Regions from separate parts of the Homo sapiens genome. Here all the other regions are linked to region 1. The links are contacts of gene promoters, found by promoter capture Hi-C in blood cells and fetal thymus (Javierre and others, 2016). All regions are on one chromosome and are shown on one strand. The core of a region is centred on a gene start or on the middle of the fragment in contact, and the rest is flanking DNA. Distances in the headings are between cores, read along the strand shown. Region 1 holds the start of LRFN4 (leucine rich repeat and fibronectin type III domain containing 4). Region 2 holds the start of ANKRD13D (ankyrin repeat domain 13D). Region 3 holds the start of BBS1 (Bardet-Biedl syndrome 1).

Region 1 (4,512 bases), core at 1-2,500:
CATCCAACTCTCCTGGCCTACAGGAGGAACTTGTTTTCAGTGGTCAGGTAACGTGCCCAGGACTACACTGCTGTGCTGACAGGATCAGAATTCCAATCTTGGGTTTCCCCGAGTTTCCTGCCACCTGGCCCATGGGGATCAGGGCTGGAGGGAGAACGAGGATGGCTGAGGTTTAGGTGGCTTAAGGACCAGGAGACACGGGGAGGTGGTGACTTCCTGTTTCCCAACTGGGCAGACCACTGGTGGTGGCGGGCACAGCTGGAAGGAAACCAGGCTCGCCGAGCCACCGAAGCCCCAGCTTTCTCAACCAGGAAGCAAAGAACCTCCCCCACCTCACGCCGGGAGCCCTTTCTCTGAGAGGAGCTGGTTCCGAGCCGCTCTTCCAGGGAAATGGCCCGGCGGCGACAGAGCGGGAGGGAGGGGCCGCAGGCGCTGCGAGGACGCACAGCTTCCCAATGCGTGCCCCCGGCGGTTGGGAAGCCGCGCCGCGCAGACCAATCCGGCCCGAGGCGGAGGCCGGTTGGCTCCGGAACGCCTGGCCCGCGGGGCGGGCGGGGCAGCTGGGGAGGGAGGGAGAGGCGAGAGGCAGCTGGGGACAGGGCGGGGCGGCGGGGGCGGGGCGCCTGCCCGGAGGCCAAGCCCTCTCGGCCCCACCCCGCAGCAGCCCTGCCAGGGGCGCCGCCCCAGCCCCCCCCACGGCCGAACCCCGTGCCGGTTGGGGACCCTCCACGTGACTCGGTGATGCAGAACGGTTATGACCTTCAGCGTGTGTCTGTGAACGCAAGGGTCCCAGCAACAGTGCGGGTTTGCGCTCGGCCCTGCCCGTGGGTGCAGGGACGTGTGGGTGTGTGGGCATGTGTGGGTGTGTTGGGGAGGGTGCCCAGCGACATGTGACAAAGACGCCCGTCTCCGGGAGATGGTGAAGGGGCCCGCGAGCAGGCGCTTTGTCTGGCTGTCTGCAGAGTGAGGTTCGCGCCGCGGCGGCGGGCGCCCGTGCGGTGCAGGATGCCGGGGCGCCAGGATGGCCGGGGGCGCGCGCGCCTGTGCCAGGGTGAGTGCGCTGCGGCAGCGCCGGGGGACAGCGCGGAGGGCCCGCGCCGGCCCGGGCCTCGGGCGTGACTGGGCGCCACCCGTGGGCGCTGCAGCGGCCGCGTGTCCCCGTGACCTCAGGAGCCGGCCCGGGCCCGGGTGGATCCCCGCGCGCCCCTCCCCGTCCGCCCTCCACGTGCGTGTCCGCGGCGCGCGCGCCCGCCGGCGCGCACCCGCTCGCCTGTCGCCGCCGCCACCGCTAACCGCGCCGGGAAAAGGTGCCGGGAACCGAGCGAGCCGGGGCCGCGGGCCCGAGCGCCATGGGCCCGAGGGTGGGCGGCGGGCGGCCGGTCATCCCCGGGCCTCGTCCCCGCGGGAGAGCGGCCAGGAGTCGGCGGGGGCCGGCCGGGCTCGCAGGGAGGCCGGCCCGCGCCCCCTGAGCGACGGACACCAGGTGAGGGGGCCGCCGGGCGCAGCGCGGGGGCCGGCCAGGGAGGGGCCACGGACTCCACGGGAGGTTCGGGGGGCGCCTTCTCTGGCGGGGGAGGGTATGGCGGGGAGTGGGGAGGCGGCTGGCGATTCCTGGGGACGCCTGGGAAAGGAAGTTCCGGGACCCTCCCTGCTCTCGGTCCTCCTCCGCTTCCTGCCTCATGCCTCACCTTGTCCCCAGCGCCTGGACTCCCCCTTAACTGCTTGGGAAATGTGACCTTTGCTCTGGGGGGCCTGGCCCTGCAGGCCCCAACCTTCCCTCATCTCTGGCGGCCCTCTTGGGCCTCTGACCCAGCCCCTCCCCGGGCCAGGCTCACAGAAGCTGGCTTCTGGGACTGTCCTGGGCCCAAGTGGGCACCTGCGCCAGCCCCACCTGTGCCTGGGCTGTGGCCCCTTCCTACAGGGCGCTCACCATGGCCCCGCCGCTCCTGCTGCTGCTGCTGGCCAGTGGAGCGGCCGCCTGCCCGCTGCCCTGCGTCTGCCAGAACCTGTCCGAGTCGCTCAGCACCCTCTGTGCCCACCGAGGCCTGCTGTTTGTGCCGCCCAACGTGGACCGGCGCACAGTGGAGCTGCGGCTGGCTGACAACTTCATCCAGGCCCTGGGGCCCCCTGACTTCCGCAACATGACGGGACTGGTGGACCTGACACTGTCTCGCAATGCCATCACCCGCATTGGGGCCCGCGCCTTTGGGGACCTCGAGAGCCTGCGTTCCCTCCACCTTGACGGCAACAGGCTGGTGGAGCTGGGCACCGGGAGCCTCCGGGGCCCCGTCAATCTGCAGCACCTCATCCTCAGCGGCAACCAGCTGGGCCGCATCGCGCCGGGAGCCTTCGACGACTTCCTAGAGAGCCTGGAGGACCTGGACCTGTCCTACAACAACCTCCGGCAGGTGCCCTGGGCCGGCATCGGCGCCATGCCTGCCCTGCACACCCTCAACCTGGACCATAACCTTATTGACGCACTGCCCCCAGGCGCCTTCGCCCAGCTCGGTCAGCTCTCCCGCCTGGACCTCACCTCCAACCGCCTGGCCACGCTGGCTCCGGACCCGCTTTTCTCTCGTGGGCGTGATGCAGAGGCCTCTCCCGCCCCCCTGGTGCTGAGCTTTAGCGGGAACCCCCTGCACTGCAACTGTGAGCTGCTGTGGCTGCGGCGGCTGGCGCGGCCGGACGACCTGGAAACGTGCGCCTCCCCGCCCGGCCTGGCCGGCCGCTACTTCTGGGCAGTGCCCGAGGGCGAGTTCTCCTGTGAGCCGCCCCTCATTGCCCGCCACACGCAGCGCCTCTGGGTGCTGGAAGGCCAGCGGGCCACGCTGCGGTGCCGGGCCCTGGGTGACCCCGCGCCTACCATGCACTGGGTCGGTCCTGACGACCGGTTGGTTGGCAACTCCTCCCGAGCCCGGGCTTTCCCCAACGGGACCTTAGAGATTGGGGTGACCGGCGCTGGGGACGCTGGGGGCTACACCTGCATCGCCACCAACCCTGCTGGTGAGGCCACAGCCCGAGTAGAACTGCGGGTGCTGGCCTTGCCCCATGGTGGGAACAGCAGTGCCGAGGGGGGCCGCCCCGGGCCCTCGGACATCGCCGCCTCCGCTCGCACTGCTGCCGAGGGTGAGGGGACGCTGGAGTCTGAGCCAGCCGTGCAGGTGACGGAGGTGACCGCCACCTCAGGGCTGGTGAGCTGGGGTCCCGGGCGGCCAGCCGACCCAGTGTGGATGTTCCAAATCCAGTACAACAGCAGCGAAGATGAGACCCTCATCTACCGGTGAGGATGCGTGCCCCACACCCGGCTGCACTCCCGGCGCCCTTCCTCCGCCCTCTGCTCCCCACAAGGCTTTGCTTCCACCCCTCCTCTCTCTGGGGCTGACACCCCCTCCCCGACCATGGCTGCTGGACTCTTGGAGGAGCAGTGGCCTGGCCTGGCCTGGCTGCCTGAGGGGGCTGGAGCTCAAGGGGCGGCAGAAGGACCCCACCCCGAGATGTCCCAGGTGTCACTGAGCTGTGCAGGCCTCCCCGGCAGCAGGTGGCGGTTGGGTCTGTCTGAAGCACATGGCCCGCGCCCGCGTGTTATTTCTGCCTCTGCTGGTGCCATCCCCCCACCCCATTCCCCTCGCTTGCCTGCGTCCTGTGCCAGTGCACACACCCATCTCCTGGCCACACTCTCCAGCCTGTTCACCTTCCTGAGTGAACCCAAGAGCCCGAGTGGCCCCAGGGGGAGGGGTGTTTGGAGCTGGGAGCACGGGAGTGGGGAGGTGAGGATGGGGCTAGACCCCAGCCCCGGGCTCTGACCACCTGCCCTTGCCTGCAGGATTGTCCCAGCCTCCAGCCACCACTTCCTGCTGAAGCACCTCGTCCCCGGCGCTGACTATGACCTCTGCCTGCTGGCCTTGTCACCGGCCGCTGGGCCCTCTGACCTCACGGCCACCAGGCTGCTGGGCTGTGCCCATTTCTCCACGCTGCCGGCCTCGCCCCTGTGCCACGCCCTGCAGGCCCACGTGCTGGGCGGGACCCTGACCGTGGCCGTGGGGGGTGTGCTGGTGGCTGCCTTACTGGTCTTCACTGTGGCCTTGCTGGTTCGGGGCCGGGGGGCCGGAAATGGCCGCCTCCCCCTCAAGCTCAGCCACGTCCAGTCCCAGACCAATGGAGGCCCCAGCCCCACACCCAAGGCCCACCCGCCGCGGAGCCCCCCGCCCCGGCCGCAGCGCAGCTGCTCTCTGGACCTGGGAGATGCCGGGTGCTACGGTTATGCCAGGCGCCTGGGAGGAGCTTGGGCCCGACGGAGCCACTCTGTGCATGGGGGGCTGCTCGGGGCAGGGTGCCGGGGGGTAGGAGGCAGCGCCGAGCGGCTGGAAGAGAGTGTGGTGTGATGGACGGGCAGCTTCCTGTGTGCTCCAAGGGATGAGCCTCGTGGGGCAGAGGGCCCGGGGCCGCCGCCTGGCCTGGGAGTCCCTCCCTGGTTTTTATTCTCAGTACCTCAGGCTCCCCTGTGTACTTGGA
Region 2 (4,512 bases), core at 752-3,251, 430 kb after region 1:
AAGAGTCAGGGGCAATGGCCTTTGAGCCAGGCCTCCAGCATTGGTGTGGGAAGGAGGGAGGACATTTCTGAGGCAGGGAAGAGCCAGGGACTCATGAGTGGCCCAGGCTGGCCGGAGGACTATAGGAAGGAGCCATGCCTGGAGGCACTGAATGCCAGGCTTAACCTATCCCGGAGCCAGGTGTGTGCTCAGGGCCTGCAGAATGAAGATACAAACGACATGGAGTCCAGACCTGCCATGCTCAGGGAGCCCTTGAAGGTGCGGAACAGGGCTGAGAGTGGTGAGAGCTGGCTCTAAAGTGATTGCCTGGTTACTGAGTACAGGATGTGGGGAGGGAGGTGAAGGACAGGAGGCAGGGAGACAAACCTCCGCAGTGGGAGAGGAAGAGATGAAAAGAGGCCAGACGGGAAGAACGTGGTCCAGCAGAAACAGGCTGGACTTGGGGCTGAGTGAGGCGGGAGTCTGGGGAAGAGGGTAGGTGTGGTTGGGTTGGCTTCGGACATACTGATGGGATAGCATGGGATCCCTGGGCACAGAGATGTCCTGGAGTAAGCTGAAATGTGGACCTGGGGGTGGCATCAGGGTGACAATGGGAACGGACAGTCTCTCTCCCAGGGATGTGGGGGTCAGGGAGAGAGAGGAGGCCGTGGAAGAGGGTTGAGAAGGCACTGTCATGGAATTAAGTGCCAGTGGGGAGCTGTGTTCAAGATGGCAGAAATCAGGAGAGGCTGGAACCAAGAAAGTCCTGTCGGGGTTGAGTTTGGAGAGGGCTCAGGGAAGGGACCGCCTCTGAGAAAAGGGGTGGCCAGGGAGGGCTGCAGTAGTGGTGAGCAGGTGAGCTCTGGGCATTCAGAAGCCTTCGGGCTGCTACCAACCCCAGGACCTCACAGATTGACACCATAGCGTGGGGTGGCAAAGTGACCCCAGATGGCACAGGCGCCATGTGACTACAGGGAGAAGGCAGGGTAAAAATGGCAATCAGGCCTTCCAGCCCAGAGTCTCAGAACTGAGGACGCCCTACAGCAGGAAGTGATGCTCAAGCTAGCTGGCCCTCCTCAATCATGTTCCACGTAGGGAAAGGGAGAATAGAGGGTCAGCCTTGGCCACCTAGCAAAACCAGGGCCCCAGACCCCAGGCTGGGCCTCCAGTAATCAAGGGCCGGAACTGAGCTGACGGAGGCCTGCACCCTAGTTCCGGTGTGGGTGGAGGGGCCGGCCCTGATTTCGAAACTCGCCTTCCTCTCCTGACGCTGGCAGCCAACCGCAGCCTCTGCAAAAGGGACTCGTGCGGCGGGCGAAGGCAGCCGTTCGCCGCGGGCGGTCCTCCGCCGGGACGGCTCTGCCGCTGCCTGGGCCTGCGCCCCTCTCTCCCCGAACTCCTATCCCTGACTTCAGGGCCCCGGGGGCCGCCTCCCCGCATCGCTGGGCCTGCAGACACCGGCCAGGTCCCAGGGGAAGGTGCTTCCCGCTCAGCCGGCAAGCACTTAGTGGCGTCTGCTCGTTGCTCGTCTCCAGGCCGGGTGAGGGGAGCCGGGGCGCCCCACTTCACCCGCACACCCCAGCAGAGTCGGTGACCGCGGGACCTGGGGTAGGAAGACCGGGGCGAGCAAGGGGATCCGCGGGGGAAACGCAGGCATCACGGCTGCAGCAGGACCGCGGCCCGCCGCGCACGCGCGTGCACTACCGAGGGGCCCAGTGCCCGCCCCCTCCGGCCCCGCCTTCCTCTTCCGGACCCGGCTCCGGGGGTCTGCGCAGGGCTCGGGGCGCCTCCTGCGGGCCGCGGGCGGAGCTGTAACCGGGCACCGCCCTCCAGGCCGCCCCAGCGGACCCGGGCCCGACCGAGGTCGGGGCGCAGACCCAAGGCCGGGCATCTCCTCGGGCGCTCGCGGTTGCTCTGCCGCGCGCTGGCCTGGCCGCGGTTGCCATGGTTGCGGGGGGACGGGGGCGCGCGCGAAGCCCCGCCCCGGCCCGGCGCAGCCCCGCCCGCTCCGCCGCCCGCCCCGCCCTCCCTGCCGCCCGCGCTGCCGCCGCCGCCGCCGCCGCCGCTACTGCTGCGGGGGCCGCGGGGGGCGCAGCTGGGGCGCGGCTCGGAGGGGAGGCTAGGGGGCCGTGCCAGGCCCGAAGCCGAGGCGGGGCCGGGATGCGGCGCTGAGGCCCAGCATGGCCGGCCCGGGCCCCACCTTCCCGCTGCACCGGCTCGTCTGGGCGAACCGGCATCGCGAACTGGAGGCCGCACTGCACAGCCACCAGGTGAGGCCCCGCTGGGGCACCCGGCCCTTCCCCCGGGTCCCCCACCCAAGGCTGTGGCCTCCGTCCTGGAGCCCCCCCCCCCCCCCCGCCCGCTCAGCTCCGCAGCCACATCCTGGGCCTTCCTCCCCTGCACGATCCCAAGCCCAGGTCACCGGCCCCTCGCGCCTGAGCCTCTGGCCTCCTCTCCCCTGCGCTGGGCCTTGCCCTGCTCGCCCGAACTCGCTTCCGCATCCTTGCTGACCCAAGCTGAGAACAAGAACTCTGGTCCTGGTCCCCAGGTTCCGCCAAACTCCTGACAACCTGCAGCTCTGCCTGACCAGGCCCCGCCGCCAGACCCCGGCTCTGCCCCTGCCTTCCCTCCTGCCCCCTCCTCTCCCCTGCCAGGACACGCAGGCCACCCTCTGCCATCTCCCTGGTCAGTCCGCCGTCCTTATTTCCCACAGCGATTCCCAACCCTGCTCGCCCTGGCAGCCTCCCTGCCTTGCCCTCTTCTCTCCTGCCCTTTGTGAGTGTCCCGTCTCCCCCAGCACGACATTGAACAGGAGGACCCCCGCGGGCGGACCCCACTGGAGCTGGCCGTGTCTCTGGGAAACCTGGAGTCTGTGAGAGTGCTCCTTCGACACAATGCCAACGTGGGCAAAGAGAACCGCCAGGGCTGGGCAGGTACTGCAGAGGACAAGGGGCTCCCCCTGAGGCTGGCAGGCGGGGGGCAGTGAGCAGCCAGGCCTGGGGTCATCTGGAGGGCTCCCCTCAGCAGCCTGGTGCCCGCAGTCCTGCAGGAGGCAGTCAGCACTGGAGACCCCGAGATGGTGCAGCTGGTGCTCCAGTATCGGGACTACCAGAGGGCCACGCAGAGGCTGGCGGGCATTCCGGAACTGCTCAACAAACTTCGCCAGGTACAGCAGGGCACAGTTATGGAGGTGGGGTACCATGGCAGGGCACCACCCTGGTTACTGTGCCAGGCCTGGCCTTGGAAAGGCACCCAGTTTGTGCAGTGTGCCTCCTGCCACCAGCAAGGAGGTCTGTCTATCTTGACCCCAGCCCAGGGTCACGTAGGAAAGAGAGACGGCCAGGCTCACGTGGGAGAGACTGGACCCTTTGGAAGAGAAGCCTTGCCAGCTTTGGGCCTCCTGAAGAATGCAGATTACCTGGAGCAGGGACTTCAGGTTGACTCGGTGGATTATGGCCTGAAACCCTGGAATACTTGCTACTACGCACCCTTCTGGAAGCACACGGAGGGGCCTGGCTGGCAGAGCATACTATCTCATACCCCCTACCCCAGGAGCAGGCTCGGAGGGAGCCACTGTGCCCCCTTTACAGAGTAGGACTCTGAGACCCAGTGGAAACAAAGGCTCCCCCAGGGCTCTGCACAGGCTCATGGCCAGGTTGAGGCTGGCCCTCCACCTCCAGGTGCTTACAGCCTCATTGTCTGAAGACCACTGTAGTGCCCCACTTGGCCCACCCTCTCCAGGGCAGAGTGGTTGGGCGTAGCTGAGCCATAGCAGTGCGTCAAGACTTGATGAAGGGCCAGGCGTTGTGGCTTACTCCTGTAATCCCAGCGCTTTCTGAGGCCAAAGTGGGCGGATCACTTGAGCCCAGGAGGTGGAGACCAGCCTGGGCAACATGGTGAAAGCCGTCTCTACAAAAAGTACAAAAATTAGCTGGGAGTGGTGGCACACACCTGTGGTCCCAGCTACTCGGGAGGCTGAGGTGGAAGAATCACCTGAGCCCAGGGAGGCAGAGGTTGCAGTGAGCCGAGATTGCACCACTACACTCCAGCCTGGGTGACAGAGCAAGTCTCAAAAAAAAAAAAAAAAAAAAAAAAGACCTGATGAAGGGCTGGGCTGGCTGTGGACAAGGGGCTCCCAGGCCTGCTGGAGCCAGCAGCAGGCAGGGCGCTGACAAGCAGCTCTGGTTTCTCTTAGGCCCCCGATTTCTACGTTGAGATGAAGTGGGAGTTCACCAGCTGGGGTGAGTGGGGACCTCTGGGCTCCCAGGGATTTGGGGTGGGGCCTTTGGAAAGACCCCCAGTGACCCCTGTGCACCCTGCAGTGCCCCTTGTGTCTAAGATGTGCCCAAGCGATGTGTACCGCGTGTGGAAGCGGGGTGAGAGCCTGCGAGTAGACACCAGTCTCCTGGGCTTCGAGCACATGACCTGGCAGCGGGGCCGGAGGAGCTTCATCTTCAAGGGCCAGGGTGAGCTCTGGACAAACTCATTGCAGCTCCTCGGCCCTTGGGTTTCCTGCGGCTTGGGAGGACGGTG
Region 3 (4,512 bases), core at 1,262-3,761, 350 kb before region 1:
TTGAACTCCAGAGCTTGTGCTCTTTGCTGCTGTGCAGCTTGTGATGTCATGGAACACGACAAGGTGCACAGAGAGGGTAGAGCAGTTGAAGTGTGTTTGAGGGCAGTGCTTCCCGGGGGTATTCAGGGGACCCTCAGAACAGCCCATTTAATAAATCAGTAAACAGGTTCGGAGATAATGATGCCATGGTGGCTAGCATTTGTTGAGCACCCCCTCGATGTGTGACTATGTCATCACTGCAGCTCCTTTACAGATGAGGAGACTGAAGCTTGGGAGGTTGCAACACTTGCCCCAGGTCCCACAGTAGACAGATGAAGTCGTTGCTGAATTGTGAGCTTCAGGACACCAAGGACTGTATCTGTTTCACCTAGTGTGGCACCTGGTGTCTTTTATTATTTATTTATTTATTTATTTATTTTGAGGTGGAATCTCACTGTCACCCAGGCTGGAGTGCAGTGGCACGATCTCTGCTCACCGCAACCTCTGCCACCCGGGTTCAAGCAATTCTCCAGCCTCAGCCTCCCGAGTAGCTGGGACTACAGGCTCATGCCACCACGCCCAGCTAATTTTTTTGTATGTTTAGTATAAACAGTGTTTCATCATGTTGGCCAAGCTGGTCTCAAACTCCTGACCTCAGGTGATCCTCCCACCTCAGCCTACCAAGGTGCTAGGATTACAGGCATGAGCCACCATGCCCAGCCTAAATCTTTATTTGATTGACTGAATGAACGAAAGCAGCAATGCATTTAATACTCCCCCTGTAGTATTTCCTTCCTCACAGGGTTACTGTAAAGAGTAAATTAAGTAATTAACCTAAAACGTAGAGCACAGGTTTTTTTGGCAGAGCTCAGTAAGAAACAGCTGCTGCTGTAATTGTGATTATTAAGATTTTTATGATGATTCAGTTTCCCTATTCAGACCTTTCCCTGCTGTTTTCTCTCCATCTCCTCCCCAGGCTCAGACGTGCAGCTTCTGGAATACGAGGCGTCAGCTGCTGGCCTCATCCGATCCTTCTCTGAGCGTTTCCCAGAGGATGGACCCGAGTTGGAGGAGATCCTCACACAGCTGGCCACAGCCGATGCCCGATTCTGGAAGGGCCCCAGTGAGGCCCCATCTGGCCAAGCTTGAGGAAGATGTGTGGCCTTGCCCCCAATTCCATCAGACCAAGGCTGCAAGTGGCCCTCCATTCGTGTGTGTATTTAGGGGCTGGGGAGGGGGAGGGGCAGGAGCTTGGACCTTGGTACTACCTCAGCTGAGGGTGGTGACACAACCCCTTCCATTTGTCAGCACTTTCCAGCCTGCCAATTGCTTCCCCTCTGTGATCTCATTTCATCTGCACTGCCATACGTGGAGTGAGCAAGACAGGGCTTACCATCCTGTCTACCAGATGAGGAAATGGCAGTTCTGAGAAGTCACTGGTCTAGATCCCGCAGGTGGCACGTGACAGCTAGGGTTCAAAACGTTCTCACCAAATCCAATGCTCCTCACATATTAATTTTATAACCAGACAAATAAATATTAGAGACAACCACCATCTTTGCGGCGTGTGTGGCTCCTCCTTGCCTTTGCCTGTCTTCTCATTTACTCCCAGCAGAGTGATGGGCTCAAGGCCTGGGGAGGGGGCAAGGAGGGCCATTTTTAGCCTCCCTTCCACAACAGGATGTTGACATTATCTCTAGATGAGGATACGCAGTCACAGAGCTGAACATAGCACAATTTTTGCAGCTCTCCTTTGTGGCATTCCTTGCATTTTTAAATGTTCTGGGGCCGGGCACGGTGGCTCATGCCTGTAATCCCAGCACTTTGGGAGGCCGAGGCGAGGGGATCACGAGGTCAGGAGTTCGAGACCGGCTTGGCCAATATGGTGAAACCTCGTCTCTACTAAAAAATAAAGTAGCTGGGCATGGTGGCATGCGCCTGTAATCCCAGCTACTCGGGAGGCTGAGGCAGGAGAATCCCTGGAACCCGGGAGGCGGAGGTTGCGGTGAGCCGAAATCGCGCTACTGCGCTCCAGCGCAAGCGACAGAGCGAGACTACGTCTCAAAAAAAAAAAAAAAAAAAAAAAGTTCTGGGAACCTACAAACTCAACTTCAGTCAGAATCCTCTGCATTTGTCCCATAACCCTCGTGTTTTGTTTCTCTGGGCCTGGACCTCTACAGTAACGCAGCAAGGCAGGACATGGTCCTTTTCAACCGGGTAACCATGAAGATGGAGACAGGAGGAGTTCTTTTTGCTGCTCATAAATGCTAGAAGGGGCTTCTTTCCAACCCTGGAAGCCAGAGGGCTCTGTGGCTGACCCAGAGATTGTAGGACCCAGACGCCTGGAAAGGTGGCTCTGACTGGGAAGGAGCAAAGATAAATATCTTTGAGGAATCTGAGACAGATTCCTCAACCCAGGAAGGTGGCCAGCGCGTCCTCCTGAGCCTGGGTGGGAAAGCTTGGCGCCCGGAACCTTTGTACTCGCCCTTCCCTGTGCTCGGGCACTATTGGGCGTTACGCGAGGGCGGGGCCGGTTGCCAGGACGACGCCTGCGAAGATGGCCGCTGCGTCCTCATCGGATTCCGACGCCTGCGGAGCTGAGAGGTGAAGGCAGGGCTCCTCAAGGCCTCTTTTCCCACCCGTGTAAAGAGGGTCCCTTGGTCCCCGGGCTCTGGGCTCCTGCTGTTCTCGGGCAGTCTGGAAGGACTCTTAAGAGGTCAGATAGGGAAACCGAGGCCTAAGATGTGCATATGTGTGTCTGGAGGTCGCTCGGTGAGCCAGTGGCGGAGCCTGGACTTGTACCCAGACGTTCTGTACCTTATGTTCAGAGTGACCTGTACCAGCTTCCTCAAAGTTTTTTTTTCCCCTCCCATGGGACTCACTCCCCAACTGTCTTTCCCCCACTTCCAGCAATGAGGCCAATTCGAAGTGGTTGGATGCGCACTACGACCCAATGGCCAATATCCACACCTTTTCTGCCTGCCTAGGTGAGTCTCTGGAACCAGGAACCCTGGGTTCTAGTGGGATGGGGAGTCAGACAATGGTCCTGTAGTGAAGCCTCTGGGATTCTGAGACTCTGGTTTTGGCCCTTTTGTTTTCCAGCGCTGGCAGATTTACATGGGGATGGGGAATACAAGGTAAGCATATCACCCTAGCCAGGAGAGTTGAGGGTAGGGGGGTGTACCCAGAAATGAGATTTCCTGACGGCTGAAAATAGGCCCAGCATACTCTGGAATTCACATATACTGTGAAAAAGCACATTTAGCGTTAAATTTTGTTTTTATATGGAAAGTGAAGAGAACTTATTGATTTCATAATACAGACTGCAGAAAGTAAAGCAGATCAAATATTTCTGGGGATTCTACTAAGACAAAGCCTCTTAGTTAACCTGATTTCTTTGTTGGAAGGGCAAATCCCTTGGTTGGGGGTGGGCACTAGAATCTGGAGGGAAAGTAAAAAGGAGGGAAGTGAACGTTTGATGTTTATCAAAAGATTTTAAGATGGGCCATGAGCTGTCAATTTTTGAAGCTGGATAATGGGATATATGGGGACTCATTATATGAGTCTCTCTACTTTTGTATGTGAATGAAAATTTTCCATAGTAAAAATGTTACATTTTAAATTTAATTTTAAGGCCAGCAATCCCAGCACTTTGGGAGGCTGAGGTGGGTGGATCGCTTGAGCTTAGGCATTCGAGACCAGCCTGTCCAACATGGTGAAACACCATCTCTACTAAAAATACAAAAATTAGCCGGGCATGGTGATGGGCACCTGTAATCCCAGCTACTTGGGAGGCTGAGGCAGGAGAATTGGTCAAACCCAGGAGGCGGAGGTTGAGTGAGCTGAGACCATGCCACTACACTCCAGCCTGGATGACAGAGTGAGACAGTTTCAAAAAAAAATATATATATATATATGTGTATATATATGTATATATATGTATATATATGTGTATATATATGTATATATATATACATATATTTAATTTTAAATAAAAATGTAAATTTAAAAAGATACAAGTTTTTTAAAGGTAGAGAAATATATTGGGATAAAAGAAAGGAAGTTAGCATGGATTCAGTATCCATTTCTGGACTAGACATTCCATGGAGGCACATAAACATGGATTTTATTTATTCCCATTTTGTGAATGGGAAAATAGTTTCAAAGAGGTGAAGTTTACTGAATTTGTAACTGGGTCTGTTTGATTCCAAGTTTTGTGCTTTTTCTACCAAAGCTCAGCCCTCACCATGGGCAACAACACCACAATGGATATATCATGTGGGTGGCTAGAAGATAGTCCTGGAATCCCACCCCACACAGAGAGTGCAATAGGACTCAGTGGTTTTTGCCCCCAAATTCCTATCCATAATGTATTCAGTAATTCAGCAAGTGTATAGTGAGTCCCTACTGTGTGTCAGGCATCATGGGGACACTACACTCAGAAATGCATCAGCATGTGGTCAGGAGGAGATACACTGTCGACAATTATTCCATGATATTGATTGAATACCTAGTTTGTATTTGGCTCTGGGC

What was found. The method cuts DNA at HindIII sites, captures the fragments that hold promoters and counts their contacts. A CHiCAGO score of 5 or more calls a contact.
Region 2: the fragment with the promoter of ANKRD13D here is called in contact with the fragment with the promoter of LRFN4 in region 1 in 1 of 17 cell types (erythroblasts); the score reaches 5.8 in erythroblasts.
Region 3: the fragment with the promoter of BBS1 here is called in contact with the fragment with the promoter of LRFN4 in region 1 in 1 of 17 cell types (naive B cells); the score reaches 5.4 in naive B cells.

What each region holds. Positions count from the first base shown.
Region 1 is chr11:66,855,814-66,860,325 of GRCh38, forward strand. It overlaps LRFN4 (leucine rich repeat and fibronectin type III domain containing 4), which reads left to right and starts at 1,251. Exons shown (of 2, transcript NM_024036.5): 1 at 1,251-3,280; 2 at 3,824-4,512. The coding sequence starts at 1,932. The coding sequence ends at 4,382. The region is part of intron 12 of PC (pyruvate carboxylase); the gene reads right to left. RefSeq lists silencers at 337-866, 1,027-1,136. The HindIII fragment of the contact is 17,472 bases long and covers 1-4,512 here.
Region 2 is chr11:67,287,302-67,291,813 of GRCh38, forward strand. It overlaps ANKRD13D (ankyrin repeat domain 13D), which reads left to right and starts at 2,002. Exons shown (of 15, transcript NM_207354.3): 1 at 2,002-2,249; 2 at 2,777-2,912; 3 at 3,021-3,145; 4 at 4,175-4,220; 5 at 4,302-4,445. The coding sequence starts at 2,160. RefSeq lists enhancers at 1-157, 908-1,117, 2,352-3,276, 3,277-4,199 and silencers at 1,338-1,407, 1,588-2,357. The HindIII fragment of the contact is 22,420 bases long and covers 1-4,512 here.
Region 3 is chr11:66,508,124-66,512,635 of GRCh38, forward strand. BBS1 (Bardet-Biedl syndrome 1) reads left to right here and starts at 2,512. Exons shown (of 17, transcript NM_024649.5): 1 at 2,512-2,583; 2 at 2,890-2,966; 3 at 3,082-3,116. The coding sequence starts at 2,537. DPP3 (dipeptidyl peptidase 3) reads left to right here. Exons shown (of 18, transcript NM_130443.4): 18 at 956-1,534. The coding sequence ends at 1,128. RefSeq lists an enhancer at 2,374-2,423. The HindIII fragment of the contact is 5,944 bases long and covers 2,436-4,512 here.